Linked DNA regions of Homo sapiens: all the other regions are linked to region 7. The links are contacts of gene promoters, found by promoter capture Hi-C in blood cells and fetal thymus (Javierre and others, 2016). All regions are on one chromosome and are shown on one strand. The core of a region is centred on a gene start or on the middle of the fragment in contact, and the rest is flanking DNA. Distances in the headings are between cores, read along the strand shown. Region 1 overlaps CEBPZ (CCAAT enhancer binding protein zeta). Region 2 has its middle 2.4 kb from the start of CEBPZOS. Region 3 holds the start of EIF2AK2 (eukaryotic translation initiation factor 2 alpha kinase 2). Region 4 overlaps PRKD3 (protein kinase D3). Region 5 overlaps HEATR5B (HEAT repeat containing 5B). Region 6 holds the start of STRN (striatin). Region 7 holds the start of SRSF7 (serine and arginine rich splicing factor 7).

The links. Contacts are between HindIII fragments. The CHiCAGO score rates a contact against its expected background, and 5 or more counts as called.
Region 1: a contact is called between a fragment that was not itself captured here and the fragment with the promoter of SRSF7 in region 7, in 2 of 17 cell types (naive CD8 T cells and total CD4 T cells). The highest score is 7.2, in naive CD8 T cells.
Region 2: a fragment that was not itself captured here is called in contact with the fragment with the promoter of SRSF7 in region 7 in 1 of 17 cell types (monocytes); the score reaches 6.2 in monocytes.
Region 3: the fragment with the promoter of EIF2AK2 here is called in contact with the fragment with the promoter of SRSF7 in region 7 in 1 of 17 cell types (activated CD4 T cells); the score reaches 7.6 in activated CD4 T cells.
Region 4: a fragment that was not itself captured here is called in contact with the fragment with the promoter of SRSF7 in region 7 in 1 of 17 cell types (total CD4 T cells); the score reaches 5.1 in total CD4 T cells.
Region 5: a contact is called between a fragment that was not itself captured here and the fragment with the promoter of SRSF7 in region 7, in 1 of 17 cell types (monocytes). The highest score is 7.7, in monocytes.
Region 6: the fragment with the promoter of STRN here is called in contact with the fragment with the promoter of SRSF7 in region 7 in 1 of 17 cell types (neutrophils); the score reaches 6.4 in neutrophils.

What each region holds. Positions count from the first base shown.
Region 1 is chr2:37,225,299-37,228,663 of GRCh38, reverse strand. CEBPZ (CCAAT enhancer binding protein zeta) reads left to right here. Exons shown (of 16, transcript NM_005760.3): 2 at 1-1,120. Among named protein-coding and RNA genes, the nearest start is that of CEBPZ, 4.6 kb to the left of the region's middle. RefSeq lists an enhancer at 2,181-2,785. The HindIII fragment of the contact is 4,440 bases long and covers 1-3,365 here.
Region 2 is chr2:37,192,463-37,195,763 of GRCh38, reverse strand. It overlaps a transcript of SULT6B1 not described here and the pseudogene RPL31P16. Among named protein-coding and RNA genes, the nearest start is that of CEBPZOS, 2.4 kb to the left of the region's middle. The HindIII fragment of the contact is 769 bases long and covers 1,005-1,773 here.
Region 3 is chr2:37,155,621-37,158,558 of GRCh38, reverse strand. It overlaps EIF2AK2 (eukaryotic translation initiation factor 2 alpha kinase 2), which reads left to right and starts at 1,579. Exons shown (of 17, transcript NM_001135651.3): 1 at 1,579-1,651. RefSeq lists silencers at 1,280-1,469, 1,670-1,789 and an enhancer at 1,520-1,649. The HindIII fragment of the contact is 2,417 bases long and covers 1-2,409 here.
Region 4 is chr2:37,309,947-37,313,247 of GRCh38, reverse strand. All of the region lies in intron 2 of PRKD3 (protein kinase D3), which reads left to right. Among named protein-coding and RNA genes, the nearest start is that of PRKD3, 13 kb to the left of the region's middle. The HindIII fragment of the contact is 901 bases long and covers 1,160-2,060 here.
Region 5 is chr2:37,074,870-37,078,066 of GRCh38, reverse strand. It overlaps HEATR5B (HEAT repeat containing 5B), which reads left to right. Exons shown (of 36, transcript NM_019024.3): 4 at 1,048-1,156; 5 at 2,433-2,582. Among named protein-coding and RNA genes, the nearest start is that of HEATR5B, 7.9 kb to the left of the region's middle. The HindIII fragment of the contact is 1,382 bases long and covers 765-2,146 here.
Region 6 is chr2:36,965,218-36,968,264 of GRCh38, reverse strand. It overlaps STRN (striatin), which reads left to right and starts at 1,729. Exons shown (of 18, transcript NM_003162.4): 1 at 1,729-2,035. The coding sequence starts at 1,802. RefSeq lists a silencer at 1,239-2,048. The HindIII fragment of the contact is 8,803 bases long and covers 1-3,047 here.
Region 7 is chr2:38,749,660-38,752,825 of GRCh38, reverse strand. It overlaps SRSF7 (serine and arginine rich splicing factor 7), which reads left to right and starts at 1,465. Exons shown (of 8, transcript NM_001031684.3): 1 at 1,465-1,597; 2 at 2,632-2,812; 3 at 3,121-3,166. The coding sequence starts at 1,570. RefSeq lists an enhancer at 961-1,020 and silencers at 1,881-1,980, 2,191-2,380. The HindIII fragment of the contact is 14,475 bases long and covers 1-3,166 here.

The DNA of each region.
Region 1 (3,365 bases), core at 739-3,238, 1.5 Mb after region 7:
TTAGGCCTGGAGGCAAATGGTATGATCTGGAGTACAGCAATGAATATTCTTTGAAACCCCAGCCTCAGGATGTTGTATCTAAGTACAAAACCCTTGCTCAGAAGCTGTATCAGCATGAAATCAACTTATTCAAAAGTAAGACGAATAGTCAAAAGGGAGCCTCTTCTACCTGGATGAAGGCAATTGTGTCATCGGGGACACTAGGTGACAGGATGGCAGCCATGATTCTTCTTATTCAGGATGATGCCGTTCACACACTTCAGTTTGTAGAAACTCTTGTGAACCTTGTTAAAAAGAAGGGCAGCAAACAGCAGTGCCTTATGGCCTTGGATACTTTCAAAGAGTTGCTTATCACAGACCTTTTGCCAGACAATCGGAAGCTGAGGATTTTCAGCCAGCGTCCTTTTGACAAACTGGAACAGTTGTCCAGTGGCAACAAGGACTCAAGAGATAGAAGACTGATATTATGGTATTTTGAACACCAGCTGAAACACTTAGTGGCTGAATTTGTGCAGGTCTTAGAAACTTTAAGTCATGATACATTAGTAACCACTAAAACTCGAGCCCTTACCGTGGCTCATGAGCTGCTTTGTAACAAGCCTGAGGAAGAAAAGGCTCTTCTTGTGCAAGTGGTAAATAAACTGGGAGATCCTCAGAACAGAATTGCCACAAAAGCATCCCATCTGTTAGAGACATTACTTTGTAAACATCCCAATATGAAAGGAGTTGTGTCTGGTGAAGTAGAAAGGCTACTCTTCCGCTCAAATATCAGCTCCAAAGCTCAATATTATGCAATTTGCTTTTTAAATCAAATGGCTCTGTCCCATGAAGAAAGTGAATTGGCTAACAAATTAATAACTGTTTACTTTTGCTTTTTTCGGACTTGTGTCAAAAAAAAAGATGTTGAATCAAAAATGCTTAGCGCCCTTTTAACAGGTGTGAATAGGGCATACCCTTATTCCCAGACTGGTGATGACAAAGTAAGGGAGCAGATTGACACACTGTTTAAAGTGTTGCATATTGTGAATTTTAATACCAGTGTCCAGGCTTTAATGTTGCTTTTCCAAGTAATGAATTCTCAGCAGACAATATCGGATCGATATTACACAGCATTATACAGGTAAGAACATACCCTTCCAATATGAGACATGAAATAATAACTTGATGTAGTACAGCACAAGCAGTGCCCTCTGTGGGGCAAGAAAAAGAGTTAGAAAATTTGGTTTTAGGCCCCCTCAGCAGCTTGCTACTCGCCACCTTCAAGTAAGTCACTTAATCTTTGTTTCCCTGATGGGCACAAATTATATTAGATGCTTTGAATACATTTTTCATTTTGAGAGGTTGTAAAATACAGAAAAATACCCAAAAGATTCATTCATATCTACCACCTAGTATTTCAGAATTAACATTTTGCTATATTTGTTTTAAATCTTTTGGGATATTAAAGAAATAAAATTGCAGATATAATTGCAGTTTCCGTCTTCCCATTCTCCTCAGTCCTCTATCTTTTCCCTGCTGTCTTTCACACAGTTGAATGCATTCACACAGTAACTCATTCAACAAGTATTTTCTGAGTGCCTGCAGTATGGTGCCATGCTCTAGGTGCACAGGAGGCACAGCGAACAGAAATCCCACCCCTGGAGGCGCTCACATTCATATTGGAGGAGGTGGCAGAGAGGGGAGCGGTGGTAAACAAAGTATGTTAAGTAGAGAGTTTTGGGGGATGCAGGGTGCAGGGTTTTTTTTGTTGTTGTTTTTTAATGGAGATGAAGATTTTCTTTACTGAATTTTGCAACTCACCCATTGAGGCATCATATTTTCAGCAATGTGTAAACAGTTTGGAGCTGTTTAAGAGACAGTCGAACATAGCAACTGTGTTCAAGAAATTAATATATTTCCTTCTGATTCATTTTTATATTTTTACATAGATATATCTTGTGAGAAAATGTGGAGTAGTGGTTCGTATCTTAGACTTAAGCCACGCCGCCTGGGTTTGAGTCCCTGCCATTAGTTTTCTGTGTAATTTTGGGCAAATTACTTGATCCCCACTAAAAACCTATTGGTAGACATAATTCATCCCATGTTATCATGCTTAAGTGGATTTGTCTGTAGGATGGAGAGAAAAGCAGCTATCTCATATGATTATTATGAAGATTTTGAAACTTGCACAAGGTTCTACAGCTTGTAAATGACAGAACTGGGGCTTTAATGAAGGTTGGGAGGTTATGTGTGTTAACCCATGTAATCTTTCTATGTATATTAAGTGCTTAACAGTGCCTAACACTTAGTGCTATGTGAAATGTTGGCGGCTATCCTTATTACTGATAGTCATCCATGTTTCTTTAGTTTAATCCTCTTAACAGCTCTCCAGTCTGTGATGTAGGGGTGGGTTGCCCCTACACACCTGTGGGTGTTTCTCGTAAGGTGGGACGAGAGATTTGGAAAAGAAAAAGACACAGAGACAAAGTATAGAGAAAGAAATAAGGGGAACCGGGGAACCAGCGTTCAGCATATGGAGGATCCCGCCAGCCTCTGAGTTCCCTTAGTATTTATTGATCATCTGTCGGTGTTTCTCGAAGAGGGGGATGTGTCAGGGTCACAAGACAATTGTGGGGAGAGGGTCAGCAGACAAACACGTGAACAAAGGTCTTTGCATCATAGACAATGTAAAGGATTAAGTGCTGTGCTTTTAGATATGCATACACATAAACATCTCAATGCTTTACAAAGCAGTATTGCTGCCCACAGGTCCCACCTCCAGCCCTAAGGCGGTTTTTCCCTATCTCAGTAGATGGAGCATACAATCGGGTTTTATACCGAGACATTCCATTGCCCAGGGACAGGCAGGAGACAGATGCCTTCCTCTTGTCTCAACTGCAAGAGGCATTCCTTCCTCTTTTACTAATCCTCCTCAGCACAGACCCTTTACGGGTGTCGGGCTGGGGGACGGTCAGGTCTTTCCCTTCCCACGAGGCCATATTTCAGACTATCACATGGGGAGAAACCTTGGACAATACCTGGCTTTCCTAGGCAGAGGTCCCTGCGGCCTTCCGCAGTTTTTGTGTCCCTGGGTACTTGAGATTAGGGAGTGGTGATGACTCTTAAGGAGCATGCTGCCTTCAAGCATCTGTTTAACAAAGCACATCTTGCACCGCCCTTAATCCATTCAACTCTGAGTGGACACAGCACATGTTTCAGAGAGCACGGGGTTGGGGGTAAGGTTATAGATTAACAGAATCTCAAGGCAGAAGAATTTTTCTTAGTACATAACAAAATGGAGTCTCCTATGTCTACTTCTTTCTACACAGACACAGTAACAATCTGATCTCTCTTCCTTTTCCCCACACTGTGAGATACAATAATTT
Region 2 (3,301 bases), core at 140-2,639, 1.6 Mb after region 7:
AACACTTGAGAAAGCGCGAAGGGGACATGGAAACAGAGAAGAGAAAAAGAATATAAAAGTATATTGAAGTACCGTGTGCAAGACAAAGCCTGGAACACCCAAAACAGGCACAGATCTACCTTCATCGAAGTTCTAGTCTAGTTAGGGGTATTTACCACAAATAACTGATGGAAAGTACACAATGATAAGGGCCTTGCTTCTAATCCGAGGAATCTGTAAAGGTTTTAGAGAAGGGGTGATAGCTGGAGCTAACTCTGTCCACGCCAAGTAAAGGAAGTGCCTCTGCAAGGTGCTCTGTGATTGCCCCAATTTTCCTAACACCCGCCCCACCCCTAGTCCAGCCCATGTGGTTCATCTGTGTAACTAAAGCATCATAAATTGTGAAAAACATATGAATTTAGGGAGAACAAAAACTTTCAGACCATATAGCAAGGCTCCACTACATTGGTTTGAAATACCAGAATATCAGTGTTAAAAGTACCAGGATGACAAAGCAAGATGAAAAAGCTATTGGGGCTTGGTGCGGTGGCTCACACCTGTAATCCCAGCACTTTGGGAGGCCAAGGTGGGCAGATAACCTGAGGTCAGGAGTTCAAGACCAGCCTAGCCAACAAGGAGAAACCCCATCTCTACTAAAAATATGAAAATTAGCTGGGTGAGGTGGAGCATGCCTGTAATCCCAGCTATTCGGAAATCTAAGGCAGGAGAGTTGCTTGAACCCAGGAGGCAGAGGTTAAAGTGAGCCAAGATCGTGCCACTGCACTCCAGCCTGGGCGACAGAGTAAGACTGTGTCTCAAAAATGGAAGGAAGGAAGGAAGGAAGGAAGGAAGGAAGGAAGGAAGGAAGGAAGGAAGGAAGGAAGGAAAGAAGGAAGGAAGGAAGGGAGGGAGGGAGGGAGGGAGGGAGGGAGGAAGGAAGGAGAAAGAAGAAAAGGTCATTGGAATGGTTCAGATTGAAAAAAAGAAAAGAGGAGAAAAAAAGCTTAAAGAAATGATAACAAGCTTTACCAACTTGGGCCTAGCAGAATGGCTCCTGCAAAGAACAGTGGCAAGAAGAAAATGGACCATTCTGCCATCAACGAGGTGATGACCCAAGAATACACCAACATTCACAAGCACATCCACAGAGTGGGCTTCAAGAAGCATGTCCCTCAGGCACTCAAAGAGATCCGGAAATTTTGCAATGAAGGAGATGGGAACTCCAGATGTGTGCATTGATACCAGGCTCAATAAAGTTGTCTTTGCCAAAGGAATAAGGAATGTCCCGTACCGTATCCGCGTGCAGCTGTCCAGAGGATGTAATGAGGATGAAGATTCACCAAATAAGCTCTGTACTTTGATTACCTATGTACCTGTTACCACTTTCAAAAATCTACAGATAGTCAGCCAGGCACGGTGGCTCATGCCTGTAACCCCAGCACTTTGGGAGGCCAAGATGGGCAGATCACTTGAGGTCAGGAGTTCAAGACCAGCTTGGCCAATATGGTGAAACCCTGTCTCTACTAAAAATACAAAAAATTAGTCAAGATCTCACTGCACTCCACCCTAGGTGACAGAAAAAGGCTTTGTCTCGAAAAAAAAAAAATCTACAGACAGTCAATGTGGATGAGAACTAACCACTGAATCTTCAACTACATCAAATATAACTATATAAATATAAAATTTCTTTCACGAAAAAACAGAAATTATAAGAAAGACTAAAATAATTGTATAGAAATGTCATGATTTCTGCAGGAAAATATATATAAACTAATAACGATATTGCACAAAGCTTGACATTTTGAGATAAGACACATTTTGGCCAGAAGGTTTGGAGCAGGAAAAGTGTAGACTCCAGTAGAAACTTTTACCAAGGGTCCTTTAGCGACAGTGCCTTCCTGGTCCTAGCCTGATTTACTAACTCTGGTAGAGGGATGCAAATGACTAGAAAGATGTGCTAGTTCTCTCCAAAGCACAGAAGCAGGCTAAAATCCCAGTCTTCTGTAGTGGCCATAGGGACCTCCACTTTAACAAATATGTACTAGGTTTGCTGTCCATTCTCCCATCTTCACCTTAAAGCCTAGACATTTCTTTTCATATTTTCTCCTTCTTCTCCTTCTTCTCCTTCTTCTCCTTCTTCTTCTTCTTCTTCTTCTTCTTCTTCTTCTTCTTCTTCTTCTTCTTCTTTTTCTTCTTCTTCTTTTTCTTCTTTTTTTTTTGGTAAATGTCTATAGACTGGAAAAAAACAAAGGAAAAGAAGGTAAGAGGGCATGGTGTCTTTAATGCCAAGGAAATAAACTTTATTTTATTATTATTATATTTTGAGACAGAGTCTCACTCTGTCACCCGGGCTGGAGTGCAGTGGCACGATCTCAGCTCACTACAAGCCCTGCCTCCCGGATTCAAGCGATTCTCTTGCCTTGGCCTCCCAAGTAGTTGGGACTACAGGCACGCACCGCCACACCTGGCAATTTTTTTTTTTTTTTTTTTAAGTAGAGACAGAGTTTCACCATGTTGGCCAGGCTGGTCTCAAACTCCTGAGCTCAAGCAATCCGCCTGCCTCAGCCTCCCAAAGTGCTGGTATTATAGGTGTGAGCCACCACACCCAGGCGGAAAGAAACTTTAAATAAGCCTCCCATGCAGCTGCCTCTGGGGCTTGAGCCAGGCCACAGCTGGCAAAGCCTGATAGGTCTGCGGTAATTTATCTCCAATATGGGTAAGACACAAGGAGCTGAAAGAAGCTAGGACTTCATATAACATGAGACCCACCTGGACTCATACGTATGACAGTTCAAACATATCACACGATACAGGTTATTCTGTAATTATTCACGGCTGGTATCCTCCCTCCATTATGCTTGCCAGACAACTCAGAGTTGAGTATGTAGAACTGTAAGGTTAACAGGTTGACCTAAGCCTAGACAAACTAAGAATCAGAGTTCCCATTACCAATCCCAAAGAGCCTCCTAAATCCTCCTATAATTACAGGCATTAGTGTCAGAACAAGATCCAACCCATTGTCTTTTTAAGTTTTTTACTCACTAAGAAGCAAGCAAGCAAACAACAACTATGTTTGAATCAATGTTTTAAATTCTACCTGACCAGAGGGAAACAAAGACTTTTTGTAATGTAAGGGATAATCCCGCTAAGCAGATTGGCAAGGAGTTCAGTCCTGTTCCTCTTTTATTTTTGGGGAGGGAAATTCTTAAATACACCTTTGCAACTACAGCTAATATCATCACATTATTATATAAGGCAAGAAGGCCTTCAAGTGGGAGTGATGTATAGAAATATAAAAATACTAAGATATTCAGATATTCTG
Region 3 (2,938 bases), core at 330-2,829, 1.6 Mb after region 7:
TTCATTCTTTAAGCTCTCTTGGGCAGTTCAGGGGCTCAAAAAGTCAGAAAAACTTGTCCTTGCTACTGCCATTGCTGCTGCCACAGCCATCCCACACCCACAAAGCTGACAAATGGACACACAGCACTGTCAGAGTTTTCTTGTCACCTGGAAATGCCACAAAAAGATGGCTCTGCCTCATGTCTACCTTCTAAACCTCCCGCCAGTGCTTTACATATAGGGGACTTAAGCTATGCCCAGGACCAGAGCTACAAGGAAAGTGTAGATTTTAGTTGTTGATACCCTGCAATGTGGGGTTGTTGGGGGATGGAGAAGGGAGGCTGGAGAGGATGCCTGCCTAGGTGTAATTTTTTTTTTTTTTTTTTGAATTGGAGTCCCACTCTGTCACCCAGGCTGGAGTGTAGTGGCATGATCTCAGCTCACTACAATCTCTGCCTCCCAGGTTCAAGCAATTCTCCCTGCCTCAGCCTCTGGAGTAGCTGGGATTACAGGTGCCTGCCACCACGCCCAGCTAATTTTTGTGTTTTTTAGTAGAGACGGGGTTTTGCCATGTTGGCCAGGCTGGTCCTGAACTCCTGACCTCAGGTGATCCGCCCGTCTCAGCCTCCCAAATTTCTGGGATTACAGGCATGAGCCACCGCGCCGGCCTAGGCATAATATTTAATGTATATTTGAGGTCTGTCTTTGGACCACCTTCCTCTCTTATCCCAGCTAAGATACTGAGAGTACAAACTCCTGGTTATAATTCTAACTCCGCTGCTTACTACCTGTGTTAATCCAAATTCTCTGTGCCTCAATACTCATTAGTCACTGTGCCAATGAACTCTGGAACTCTGTGTGACTCTGGGAGTGTGTCGCAGTCCATCAGGTGAGTAGAATTTCTATAAATCGAGGACTACTGGTGTTGGACTATGGTAGGAAGCTCCCTGGGGTACTGTAGGAAGCAGGTGTCTCTATTTAGCAGCAGGACTGGCCCACAGGTGCTTTTACAGCGGCTGGCAAGTGTCTGCTCATGAATGAATGGATGGGTGGGAGCGGAGTGAAGGAGATTACGCCCCCAGGCCTCTGATCCCCAGGCTTGTAAAGGTGAGGGGGCCGCGGTGTGGCAAGAGGGAAAGAGTGCTTTGGTGTTTACAGGCCCCGACTTGAACTGAATCCTGGCTTTGCCACTTACGAGCGGCAGGACCCCTGGGTGAGTTCATTTACTCAGTTTCCTCTATTGTAGAATGGAGCTGGTAAGATCCATCTTCCCAACCCCACCCCAAATATTTGTGTTGAGAGTAAGTGGAACCCTTGATTCGAGAACCTAGTGCGGCCAGCGGACTAGGCCAGCGGAGAACCCTAGGAGCCCCGGGGGCGGGGGATGGGGGTGCAGGGTCCTGGCCGTGCAGGGGCAGCACGTGGGTGCCAAGCCCGCCTGCCGGTGCCAAGCCCGCCCGCCGGTGCCAAGCCCGCCCGCCAGTGCCTCTCGCGCGCACTCTGGATCCAGCGCCAATTTACCCCAATCCCGTAGCAGACGAGGGCTTGTGCGAGAGGGGGCCGGGCGGCTGCAGGGAAGGCGGAGTCCAAGGGGAAAACGAAACTGAGAACCAGCTCTCCCGAAGCCGCGGGTCTCCGGCCGGCGGCGGCGGCGGCGGCGGCGGCGGCGCAGGTGAGCAGGGCAGGGGGCAGCCGAGGGAGCGCGGGGAGCGGGGGCCGGGGGGCCACGTACGAGGGGCTGCAGGCCCAGCCGGGGCGGGACTCGCCAATCCTGCGTCCCCAGCTCAGGACGCGGACGCTGATCCGAAGCCCCTGGCCCCGGCTGGGTCAGCACTGGGAGAGCAGGCCCAGGTCCGCAGCCCGGGTGTGGGGCCCTCCCCAAATCCAGGGAAAGGATCGTGGAGCGGGGTGGGGACTGAAAGCCATTTCCTTCCCGTGAAGAATTTTTATCAGTGCAAGTAACAAATATTTCCCAGGCAGCAGTTGTGGGGCGGGGTCTAGTGGAAGACGAATAGGCCTAGTGGCTTGACACATGGAAAATACGGAGGCCTGAAATACTCATAGACTGGCTGAACAATCTTTGGCTAAAAATCTCTTCCGTGGAGAGTTGCAGTAGTTTCCCAATTGCCTGGCCGCAGTTCCTGTTCCCACTCCGTATCCTCACCCCTGAACCTCCACCCCCTACCTCTTCTCCACACCTCAGCATCTGGAATGTTCCTTTAAGTAAGAACCAGACTCTCCCCTGCTCCGACCTTCCCCGTAGCTTTCCTGTCTCATCAGAATCCTATAAACATTTATTAAGGCTCACAGGCAAGGCCCCTCGCACCCCCTACTCCGGCCACGCTGGCTTCCTTGCTGTTCCTGGTGCACAGCCAAGCATCCTCCAGCCTCTAGGCCTTTGCACTGCTTGTTTCTTCTTTCTGGAAAGCTTCTTCCCCAGATAACTGCATGGGGAAATCCCTCCCTTATCCTGCACTGCTTCCCATGCCAGCTTATCAGAGCAGCCTTCCTCAAACAACCTGCCTATACAAGAAACCCCGCTCTGCCCTTGCTGTTCCCCCTTCCACTACTTCGGTTGTCAACATAGTAGTTATCACCTGGTGACATTTTCTTTCTTTTCTTTTCTTTTTTTTTTTTTTTGAGACAGATTCTCACTCTGTCGCCAGGCTGGAATGCAGTGGCACGATCTGGGCTCACTGCAACCTCTGCCTCTCAGGTTCAAGCGATTTTCCTTCCTCAGCCTCCCAGGTAGCTGGGACTACAGGTGCCCGCCAGCACAGCCAACTAATTTTTTTATTTTTAGTAGAGACAGGGTTTCACCGTGTTGGCCAGGCTGTATGTAGTCTGCTGGAAAGGAAGTGGAGGCATAGCCAAAATAATTTCTGGGCATTAGTAAGATGGACAAATATTATTTTTTAGTGATTATGATGGAGGTTTCTTCCAGATGAGTGAATAAGAT
Region 4 (3,301 bases), core at 361-2,860, 1.4 Mb after region 7:
CAGGGTGCTCAATCCTTTATATCTTGTCTGTGGCTTCTTTTGTTCTGCAGCAGCAGAGTTGAGTAGCTGTGACAGAGACCATATGGCCCACCAAGCCTAAAATACTACTGTTTGGCCTGTTGCAGAAAATGTTTGGAAATCCCTGTTCTAGTTTATATAATATGCATCTGATCAGAGTATCTTCAAACAATATCATAGCACTTTATAATGTAATATATACCTTAGAACAGTATATTTCTATTTTCTTCCTATTGTCATTTTTATATTTTATTTCTACATGCAGTCAATTATTGTTATTCATAGTAGTTATATTCTGTAAAGTCACTGAGAACACTGAATTAGCTAATAGTGAACGATTGCTCCTAGTAGGACCTAGTGGAACCTTTGTTCCTAGTGGGAGGATAGGTTCCTGCAAGCCTCTGGTCACATTTTCGTCAACCAATAAATACATAACCTTGTTTTATGTGTTTCTGTTTGAAGACACTTTATTTAATATATATAGTTGATTCATTAACATTGTACTCACAGCTAACAGCGCTGTTACTTATACCTGAATGTTATTGAACACGTGTAGTTACTCTATAAGGGACATCATAAACTTTTTGCACTTGAGAACACTAGACTGCTTCAGCACTGTGCTTGGGAGCCATTTTAAACAGAAGAGTCACTAACAAAAGATGAAAAAAATGCAGAAAATATGGCACTAAATAGACTGTGAAAAGGACTCTTATTTACACTATAAGAGCTGGAACAAGAAGGCAGAGCTATAACAAGACTTTGACTTGAAATATGTAGTACGATAGAAAAGCTGTGTTTGCCTCTGAGCTGTGCCATGACCACATTTGAAATAATACATTGTTTTAAATTTTTTTCACTCCCAGCCTACTATTGGAAATAAGTTGAAGGGGTGTGAACCAAGCTCCTTGTCAGATATTTCCACGATTCAGTAATTTTTGATGAAATAGTTATAATCAAATGAATAAACTCATAACATATATTTTGACAAATGCAGGCTTTATTGCTATGTTTGTGTCTATTTTTTCCCAACAAAATCTTAACCAGTCTGCTTTTGAACAGCCCACAAGATTTTCTGATTACTCTTATCATTGAGCATTTCCTGGTTAGCTTTTTTAAAAATTATAGGCAAAAGTTCAAAGCTTGTTTTGTCATATTTATGGAAAAAGAAAAAAACCTAGTTTTAAAAAATCTTTTACAATAGGCCACATGTTACAAGGATCAGGATGTTTACAAACTCGATGCATGTAGTTGCAAGGTTATATGCATTTTAAATGTGGACTTGATTTGTAACAGTGGTTTTCAACCCAGACTGCACTGGAGAGTAACTAGGAGGTTAAACAGGTCCTTCCTAGACCAATTAAATCAGGTCCTTTGGGAGTGGGAGTCTGTTTAAGAGTTCTATCTATGATTCTAATGAGAGCCACAGTCTAGAACCTCTAGTCTAATGGAAATTTGATAAGCCTAAGGACCAGATAAGTAACAATCTGAAGATACATTTTTTCAAATATTGAAATTGTATATTTTGTCCCGTGAGTGCCATCTTATTTTCCACATACTGAAAATATACTTTAAAAAAATTCTTAAAATTAAAAATTTCAGAGAGGTCTGCAGCTGATTATAGGTTAATGTGATAATTGCAAATTCTAGGTAGATTTTCAGTCTCCCTGGTGGCAGTTTGCAGAGAGCTAAATAGTGTTATACAATTATCCTACACCTGGGTGCCATTATCTGTTATGGCTTTGCTTCAGTTGAACAAATATTTATGGTGCACTACTCTTCAGTCACTGTGCTAGATAACTGTGGAAGCTCCCAAGATGAAACACAAATTCCCTGCCCCTGTGATTTATGCTCTAGAAAAGAAGATGAGCAAATGTCAAATTGCCCTAATATAAGGTAGATGTAAGTCCTGAAATAAAGGTACAATATGATAAAATGACTCAGGAAGGAGAGCTGTCACCTTGTTGGAAATATGAAATCATATTTTCAATCCTACTTTTTGCTTGCCATCACCAACTGTAGTACTTCACCTGGAGAAATAAGCTTTTGCTGGTACAATGCCATGCTACTACTTTGATAGCTTGTAGCATGGATAAAGCAAGATACCTTTAACATCCTCACTAGTCTGTGAGACAGCAGATACTGGTCTCTTTATGCACATATAGAGTCTGCTTTCTTTTGCTTGGTCAGATAAAAAGTTTTGTGATTCTGCTTCCTAGTGGTGCTCTAAATTTTATTTGTGTTAGAATTAGTTATTCAAGAAATTCGTGATAATCTCTGCCCTCTTCACTCTGCAGCAGTTAACTGGACAGACGTGTAGTTGCCAGCAATGAGCAGGTGACAGAAATATGTGATTGCTTATGTATAAGGTATTATTGCAAGATTACTTACAAAATAATGCTGATCAATCTCTGATCTCTGGTCCAGATTCCTTTCCTAAGCTTCAGACATGCCATGTTCTATCTTTTAACTAGCCTTGAACACCCTTTCATTGCCACATCCTCTGCTTAGACCTCCAGCAAGTTTTTTTCTGTATGGATGTTGGCATCCTATCCAACACATTGTATTTTAACATTCATAATGCTCATTGTAATTGTCTCTTTTCTTGACTGTATCCACTATAAAACTAAGCTTTATGATGCCAGATATCATGGCCACAGTAGGTGCTCAGTGAATATTCTTTGGTTGAATAAATAAAGGAAGGAATTAATATGAAGCAGTATAGTGTTATAGTTAAAACCATTAGTTTTGGGGTTAAACTGGAGTTCATTTCTACCACTTATTAGTTGTGTAATCTTGATTCCTTGTCTGAAAAATGAGGTTAAAAGTAGCACTCATCTCTCATCATTGTGTGTGTATATTAAATGATATGTTTCTAAAATGCTTAGCCCAATACTTAGCAAATAGTAATCACACAGTATATGCTAGCTAATCAATATTATTATGTATTAATCTGATCTTAGTGGTTTCCAAACTCAAAAGAAAACTTGAGCTATTACACTTCGAGGTCCCTCTCTGTTGAAGATTTATTAGAATTAGCCAGTGGTAATCTAGAAATGACTGAAAACTACTATCAATTAAGTTTATGTTAATTTTTTGATTTGTGCTTTATAGAATATATACATATGTCAAAATCTGTTTTCTCTGTAGAAGACAGCTGATTCCTTCCTTGATCTGAATAGGTACTCACAGTTTTCTATTAGCTTTACTAATTCTCCTTTTATTGGTACAGAAAATTAGAGGTTAATGGTATATCAATTCTGTGATTTATTTTATCTTCTGTTCT
Region 5 (3,197 bases), core at 206-2,705, 1.7 Mb after region 7:
TCTGCTAGACTCCAAAGCATCCGCTCTTAACCACCATGTCCTACTTTTGCCTTTAAGCTAAACCCACAGCTATTCACTTACTATTGACCTAAGTGACACTGGGGTCATTTCTTGCTCCTGAAGAAGTGTGTTGCTATTATTACTTTATTCTTCCAAGTGTTCTGTTAATGTAATTTAGATTAAATTTTACAGGTTTACTAATAGTATAGTATTATTTGTAAATTAAGAGGTAGACACTGTGAGCAATGCAAATATGTGAGCTATATTCCGTTTCTGGAGTTTACATTTCCACTGGCAGGACAAGATAGAGACATATAAAATGGTCAAGTTACAACACAGTAAATGATATAATTTTGTCAAAATCAGTGATTGACATTAAGTGTTACATATAATGAAAGAAGAGAGGGATTGTTGAGGCTTGACATAATTTGGAAAGTCTTCATAGAAGCAAAGCTTAGGGGCCGGGCGCTGTGGCTCACGCCTGTAATCCCAACACTTTGGGAGGCCGAGGCAGGCGGATCACCTGAGGTCAGGAGTTCGAGATCAGCCTGGCTAACGTGGTGAAACCCCATCTCTACTGAATATACAAAATGAGCTGGGAATGGTGGCATGCACCTGTAATCCCAGCTACTCAGGAAGCTGAGGCAGGAGAATGGCTTGAACCCAGGAGGCAGAGGTTGCAGTGAACCAGGACCACACCACTGCACTCCAGCGTGGGTGACAGAGTGAGACTTTGTCTCCCCCTAAAAAAAAAAAGAAAAGCTTGGATTTCTTCCCAAAGAATGGGTATGATTTATTATGTACATATATAGATTCTTTTGTATTCCTAACAAGAATACAATTTAACTATAGTATTTAACAAGAATACAGTGTAAATAGAGTATAGTATTTGTTGCAGTTATGAAGCATAAATTGTTTTTGATAGTTGAAATTAAGGATTATAGCCAAAAGTGTCCTAGACAAATGCAAATTGATTTCTAAAAATGAGAAAAGTATAATTGTATCATTAACCTGGACAATGACTAGTGAAGTTGTCACTTCTTACAGGGCTGCGGTGGCTTGTGTCGGAGCATTTTATGAAAAAATGGGGAGAATGTTGGGCAGCGCATTTCCAGAAACGGTAAATAATCTATTGAAATCTCTGAAAAGTGCAGAGGTAAGTTTTACAACCAATATTATTTGAATATTTGCTTGTGGCAAGAGTTAGATGTCAGCTAAAATATGTTTGTTTCTTTTTCTGTCACTGTGGTCTCATATTGCTTAGCAAGGAGGTAATTACAAATTATTACTTGTCCCTTCTTTTAATGTATATCAGGGGGAAGGGAAAGAATGCTTTTCTTTGACAAGGAATAGGTTTACTTGTTATTTTTTATTTAGTCCTATGGTACTTTTGGATTGGCTTTTTTTTTTTTCTTTTTTTTGGTGCCATAGCTAATGTGTTAATTTCCTGGTTACTGTAATAAATTACCTTAGACTGGGTGGCTTAAAACAACAACAATTTATTGTCTCACAGTTCTGGAAGCTGGAGGTCTGCGATAAAGTGTCAGCAAGGCCATGTTTCCACTGAAGGATCTAGGGAAGAATGTTTCCTTTCCTTCTTACCTTCTAGTGGTTGCTGGAAATCTTTGATCTTCCCTGGCTTGTAGATGCATCTCTCCCATCTCTGTCTCCTTTGTCACATCACCTTTTTCCTGTCCCTTTGTGTTTTGTGTCTAAATTATTTCCCTGTTCAGTGATACCAGTCATTGGATTAGAATTGGATACCTTTTCTGGGAACTATTTGTCTATTCATTCATTAAAAAAGAATTGAGGACTTATTATTTGTCAGGCATTAAACATACAAAGATGGTCCTGACCTCAAAGAACTTACAGTTTAGTGGAAGAGAGCTAAGTGTGAATAAGCATTGTGATACACTGTGATGAGTATACTATCAGAAATAACAATAAGCACTATGAGAATATGGATATAACAGTTTGAGTTAGTCACAAGAAGATGAAGGTTTGCTGTATTTCTGACATGTTTTTTTAAATGTGTTGGATGTTTTCTGCTTCCTTTTTTGGATCATTTATATATTATTTCTCAACTTTTTTACTTAATATTTTACGTTCTGAAATATTTTATATATTGAGATATGATATTGAAGCTTTTGAATCTCTTCATGTTTTCATTATATTGTATGTACTTCAGTAATTCATAGAAATATTGGAATATATTTACTTAAAACCTAATTTTTTAGAAAGATATTATTTAATTGACTATTCTTACTTGCCAGGTACTTTCTAGAATACTTAATTTTATTGTACTTTTCATTATTTACCGTTTATAATTTGGAGGTAAGACCATTAGACCCAAAGAACTTTTGTCTTGGTGTGTTCTTGTTTAAATATGGAATTTATTTTACAAAATAGTTTTGTTTTGTATACATGTCTAGTCTCAAGGGCGAAGTGAAATCTTAATGAGTCTACAGAAAGTTCTAAGTGGACTGGGTGGTGCAGCAGCTTCCTCCCATCGTGATATTTACAAGAATGCCAGGTCTCTCTTGACTGATAGGTCAATGGCTGTTCGATGTGCAGTGGCCAAGGTTAGTACTCGACCAATTTAGAATACTGCTCTTTATCCTTCTTGCTCTTAAACAGTCAACGATTTTTTTTTCTTTTAAAATTTTAAATTATGTTTTGTGTTCCAATGGATTAGTTTCATTTTCTAGAATTATATATAATAGTATCACATCATGAGATGTACTTTTGTGTATGTGTATTCTGGCTTCTTTCACTTAGTATAATTGTTTTGAAATTCATTTATGTTGTTATATGTATCCATAGTTCATTCCTTTTTATTGCTGAGTAGTATTTCATTGTATGGATATGTCACATTGATTTGTTCACTCACCTGTTATAAACATTTGAGTTGCTTCTAGTTTTGATTATTACAAAAAAACTGCTGTGAACATCTGTATATAAGTTTTTGCACAAACATATGCTTTCATTTCACTTCCGCAAATAACCTAGGGATGGAATAGCTGGTTCATAGGGCAGATTTAGTTTAACGTTCAGAAAAGTACAAAACTGTTTTCCAAAGTACTCGTGCCATTCTGCATTTCTACTAGCAGTGTATGAGAATTTCTCTTCCTTCATATCATCACCATTGTTTGTTACTGACAGTCTTTTTAATTTAAGCCATTCTAATGGATACATAT
Region 6 (3,047 bases), core at 480-2,979, 1.8 Mb after region 7:
TGACAAGTCTCAATTTTTTTGGAATTTAGTTCCTTGAGCTGTAAATGAGAAGACTGGGCTGTATCTCAAAGGACACTGACAGCCAAAATAAGTTATGGCACAGGGAATTTGGCCAGGCCTGGATCAATCTTTGATGATAATAAAGAATGAATTCATAAAGCAGAAACATTAATTAAGCGAGAGAAGAGAGTTCTCCATCTTTATTTGCAACCAGAGCAGACACAATGTGTTTCCTGTCCTTTCTGCAAGTAGCCATGGGAAAGGGGGGGAGGGGAGAGAGGACAGGGACAGGATGTCTTTCCCTGACATGTCACTCAGCAGCCTAGATCTTTACATTTTTTCATGGCCATCAAGTCTGATAACCCACAAGTACGTCCTACAAAACGTAAGAATTTCAGATAACTTGTTAGGGTGACAAAATAAGTGCTTAATTTCATTTGCATTTGTTAAATTGTTTTCAGGGGCCTTCCTTTTTGCCACTGTTGTAGTGTGAATTTATAGTGACATATTGTCAGACTTCGGAGAAGGCAAATATTTACAGAGAGTAACTTGAAAGGACTTTGGTGTACCTTTGGTAGGCGGATGCTGTTGCCAGTTGGCAGGTGAATCGTGAAAGAAACTGGGAACAGGACAAGTGAAAACGGAGAGGGGCCAGGATATCTAAGACCGCGCTAGGGAGCAGAAAGGGAACTTGCTTTTTCAAGGTGGTGTAGCTTTTAAATTAAGCCTTTGTGATATTTGATTATACGCCAATCTTTGATGACAGAAACGATGTCATTTATCTTAATATTCCCAGCGCAAGAGAAAACCGATAATCAAAATATTTGTTCAATTAAGTAGAGTAAAAATCAGCGGGAATAAGATAGGAAAAATGAGACCGAAATAACAGAACATCTATTATTGGATGCTAAAACTTTTACAGGATTTACTGCAGGAGGACTGCAAAGGGAAAGAAACTTCAACGGAGCAGTTTTTCAGATGGGCTGTCAACAAACCACAATTTGGAAGCAGCAGCAGAAAGCTGCGGCGTTGTCTTAGAAAGGTGATCGGCGTTCCTTAGAAATGAAAACTGGTCAGGTAACAGGTTTGAGCCCCTCGAGTCAAAAGAGAAAGGCAAGAGCGACAGCGACCCGCAGATTGGCAGAATGGAGGAGCGTCTAGGGTGAGAGAAACTCCGAACACGAAGCCGAAGCGAGAGCACGCAGGGCAGCTGGCGGGAGAACCCCGGTCCCGCGGCCGCACCGGGTAGCTCGCTTTGAGCCTGTTCCTTCACAGAACGGCCAGGAAGCCTTAAAAGATGTGCAGCTCGGGCAGGTATCTTGGCGTGACAACTTCCGTGTGTGTGTGTGTGTGTGTGTGTGTGTGTTTTTGAATGCAACAGGGTGCGCCGCCCGCGAACTTCCGCGTGCGAGGAAGACTGGAGACCCGCCCGCCCGCGCCCAGCCGGCCCCAGAGGAAACCCGCTCTCCCCGCCCAGCCGGCCCCCTACGCGGCGAGCCGGGGCGGGGCGGGCCCGAGGCCACGCCCAAGCTGAGGCACAGCCCTACAGGCCGCCCGGGCCGCGCTAGCCCGCGCCCCGCCCCGCGACTACATTTCCCGGCAAGCCCCGGGCCGCCAGCGCGCCGCAGTTGACCCATTTCCCGGCCCGTCACGGGCTCGGCCGGCCCCCGCGCCCAGGAGGCTGCTCCCTGCTGACTGGGGTGTGGGCGGGAGCGGCGGAGGGAGGAGGAGGCGCTGCTTGCCGCCGCTGTTGCCTCCGCTGCTGGGCGCCGGGGCAGCTCCCCGGGTATCTGCGGCCGCCATGGACGAGCAGGCGGGTCCCGGCGTCTTCTTCAGCAACAACCACCCGGGCGCCGGCGGTGCCAAGGGGCTCGGGCCTCTGGCGGAGGCTGCCGCGGCCGGCGACGGGGCGGCTGCGGCGGGGGCGGCCCGAGCCCAGTACAGTCTCCCGGGGATCCTGCACTTCCTGCAGCACGAGTGGGCCCGCTTCGAGGTGGAGAGAGCCCAGTGGGAGGTGGAGCGGGCGGAGCTGCAGGTAAAGACCCTCCCGGCCTGGCCGTCTTCATCCCGCCTCTTTGCTCCCTTCCGCCCCGCCCCGGACCCTTCTCCCCCTCCCCCAGCCTTCTCGCGTCCCCTCCCCCTTTGCTGCCGCCCATCCCACCCGGAGCCCCGTCCCCTTCTTCTCTTCGCCTTTTGCCTTTCGCTGACCCCACCTCGACCCTGTTCTCACTCCCGCTCCTGGTGCGTTGTTTACCCTCCCCACGCCTGTTCGTCCGCCCCATCCCACTCTTAACTCCCAGACTCATTTCAACTCTCTGGCCATCCTGCATCTCAGGGCTGCCCTCTCGGTTTACTAATTGGGCTGGCAGTAGTTTTGAGAGACGCGGAGCAAATCGTCCGCTGCCCTGGTGTGCCCCTTCCTAGGTCTAGAGACAGTCTCCGCAGAACGTGCCGGCTTTGGCCCCTCTCTTCAAGGAAGGTGATCAAGAAGACAACAGAAGTTGTGTCAGGCCTTGAGTCGAGGCGAGAAGTTGACGTTGGGCAAAAGTGTTATTCATATATCAGATCCCTTTTTTTATATATGTAAATGTCTGTTCTCCACTTTCTTCCGACCCCCCGGCCCCCTCCCACGTTTCTTTTAGGTATTTCCAATTAATGCATTTTGAATGAAGGACCTAGATGATCGCAGTCAGAGAGAATGGTTAAGAGGTGGTTCCTGTTCTCAGAATCTGAAACTTCCCAAGGGTTAATTTTATGTTCAGTGTTTTGGGAGATTTTCTTGTGCTTTAAAAGGAACTAAAGGGACTTTGAAGTTAGTTACATTGCCTTGCATAATCTGCAAGATAAAGTATATCCAGGGAGGAGATAACTGTGGGCTCTGAAAAGAATGAAAGTGAGGCTGATACTTTACAAGCCATTCAGAATTGGTGAATAGGTTTTCAGTGGTTGTTCTTAAAACTTCCAGGGCATACACACCAATTTCAAAAGGAACTTAAAGAACTATGAATAGTTGTGCCTTTCTGTTTTACGGGCTAAGCCTGTATACT
Region 7 (3,166 bases), core at 216-2,715:
AAAGTGCTGGCATTACAGGCGTGAGCCACTGCGCCTGGCCCCTATATAGTCTTTATAATTATTGTTTAATTCTTTTGAGAAGAACCTATAGATCTTTATAATTATTGTTTCTTTTGAGAAGAACCTTGTTAAGAAAAAAATCACCAAGACTAAGGGAGAACACATATACTCTACAGAGCTTCTATTTTCTTCTTAGAGATCTTCCTGAGAGAGATTAATTCTCTCCATAACTTAATCAACGTAAAAAATATGCATAAAATCATAGCATGACCTGGAAAGAATCCATGCTTTATTCACCAACTAGGCCTGCTTTCCCTGTACTCTCCATTCCACACCTATACTCACCAAATGAAGTTGCAAAAGACGAAAAAGATAAAAATGCAAATACCTAAATGTCTTTTTTTATGTACATTTCCAACTTTTGTGTATTCCAAGAATTTACGATGTAATGTCTATGTTTCTAGCAAAAAAGAACTTTTTCTCTATTTGTAGTTGGTGTCTAGAGCAATTCTAATGTAAAGAAGTTTTGCATTTATTTGGTACTGTTGAGTGGCTGAGCAGCAAGGCTGCTATTTCCACTGAGTGGAGATACACAAAGATGACTTAGGAGTCCCAGTCCTCAGGATCGGAGTATTGGTGGATCACACGTGTTACAAAGCAGAAAGCATTAGGAAAAGCAAATCAGTTACTTTGAGCTTCAGATGCAAATAATTTCCAAATTGTCACTGGCCAAAATGCTTTAAACATTCAGGGTTTTGTCACAATTTCAATATAAAGGGGGGAGGGGGGAGCGGGACCCCACAGCTCTATTCCTTTGTCTTTCAGACTCCAAGAACTCAGACCGTGGTGGTGCAAACTGGTGACTGGTTCAAAAGAAGTTGGAGGGGGCGTGTAGGACAGGAGGCTTTACCACCAGTCCCAGGGTGCGTCAAGGTCTATGGTGTAAAAACCACTACTCAGAATGGCGGGGTTCATGGACTTTTCACCATGGCCAAACCTTCGATTACCTCTGATGAGCCCCAAAGATCAGAGTAGCTGACTAGGCCAGGTCCCCCAGCAGAAGGGCGCGACGGCTGCAACATCAGCGGTTAAATTGTACAGCCTTTCATAGGCCGGTCTAATGCATCCGTACTAAGATTGTTAAGGCTGAGGGTCCCTAGCCTGGGGAAAAACGAAAGGAGGCAGAGGGTAGGGAGACGGGAAAGAAGACAAGGAGGGTGTAGAAAACGGGGAGAGGAGGGGGCGGGACAGCATGGGGAAGGCCTCAGGTTTACTGGAGAGATCGTGGCGTTCCCATAGAAACGTATCCCTCCGCCCATGACCCGCGTGTTAGTCTCTTCAGTTCCTTCCGCGTCGTTTCTTGGCTGTTTCCGCCCAGCTCCTTTGTGCCGCGCAGAACAACGAGATGACGCATGCGCAAAGCGCAGCGGCCGCATATATAAACGCGAACCCGGGCTCTTCCTCGTAGTGCCGCCGGGACTCTTGGCGGGTGAAGGTGTGTGTCAGCTTTTGCGTCACTCGAGCCCTGGGCGCTGCTTGCTAAAGAGCCGAGCACGCGGGTCTGTCATCATGTCGCGTTACGGGCGGTACGGAGGAGGTAAGAAGCTGGAGTCCGGTGAGGGACGTTGGTGTGGGTGTAGTGAGCACTGCGAGGCCGTAGGGTTGTCGCGGAGGTTGGGAGACGGTTATTCCGCGTGCGTAATGGCGGCTTAGGAGCACGCCAGACGAAGCCGGAGGCAGCGGAGGCGGGGTGCTGAAGGGAGACGGGATGGCGGGTGTACATCTCTGCCGAGTTCCGTACTCTTGGGCATTTTTGTGGCCCAATCCAGCCTAAAGCAGGGTTGAGATGACGGTTTTCGCGTTGCCTTTCTCGGAGCTGCCCGCCGGCCCCCCTCCCCCCCCGCCCTCGGCGGCGGCTGCCATTTTGCGCACATTGAGGACCGTGGTGGCGCATTTCCTCAGCGCTTTCCCGCCACTTCAGCGGACAGATCTGGCCGCAGCTGTAAGATCGTGGTTGTGTTTGAGATAGAACGAAATTGGCAGCTGTGAGCTGCATGTTCTCGTCAAACAATCGGTTAAATTGCGGAATGGGAATGGGGACGTAATCTGCGACTGGCGGCTGGGTTTTTTTTAGTTATTTCCAGCGCGGTTTATGGCTCTGGGGCGGGGAGCTGGAGTCTTGGGCGAGCCTGTGCCTGGGACGTTTGCCGCGGAGGACGAGAGCCGGCGCAGCCCTGCTCTCCTGGCCCGGCCCCTACCGAGGCCCTCCCGCCGCCGACGCCGCTGCCGCTGCGGGCCCGCGCGCTCCCGGTGCGCCCGGGGCTGCCGGGACTCATGGGTGGGGCCGGGCCAGGTTCCGCCCCACGCCTCGGTGTATCCTACCACGCGTTTCTGCTTGTGTTCGGGAGGGTCACCCCGCATTATTTAGAACGTTAAGAATTTTGTCAAAAGTCTAGTTTCTCAGGGATTTGCGGACTTTCACCAGTTTTACGACTAAGTTTTGTCTTGGATAGAGGGCATTAAATGTGCTTTACCCAATCTTGAGGATGGCCCGTTTTAAGGCAAATAAGTAATTGAAACTTGGGCCAGATTTTGCGTAACGTGCATTCTTCTATTTGCGTTTTTAAACAGAAACCAAGGTGTATGTTGGTAACCTGGGAACTGGCGCTGGCAAAGGAGAGTTAGAAAGGGCTTTCAGTTATTATGGTCCTTTAAGAACTGTATGGATTGCGAGAAATCCTCCAGGATTTGCCTTTGTGGAATTCGAAGATCCTAGAGATGCAGAAGATGCAGTACGAGGACTGGATGGAAAGTAAGTAAGATGTTATGAATCTTCTGTTCATTAAAATATACTGTGGCTAGATAATGAACTTAGTGCTAAATTTGGATTCTGAAGTCTGGAAGAGACCTTAAATAGCTGGTCATAGTGTTAAATGCTAAAGGCACACGAAGGTTAAAGAAGATAGCGGAGATGGAGTTAGGGCTTGGTAAAGACCGCCAAAGTTTGTTGGGGGGGAAGGAGTGGTTGGAAAGAGTGAGTGGTTGGAAAGAGTTCTTTTTAAATCTATAAGTCCTGAATATATTTTTAACTTTAGAATTTTGTTAATTTGCTTTTATTAGGGTGATTTGTGGCTCCCGAGTGAGGGTTGAACTATCGACAGGCATG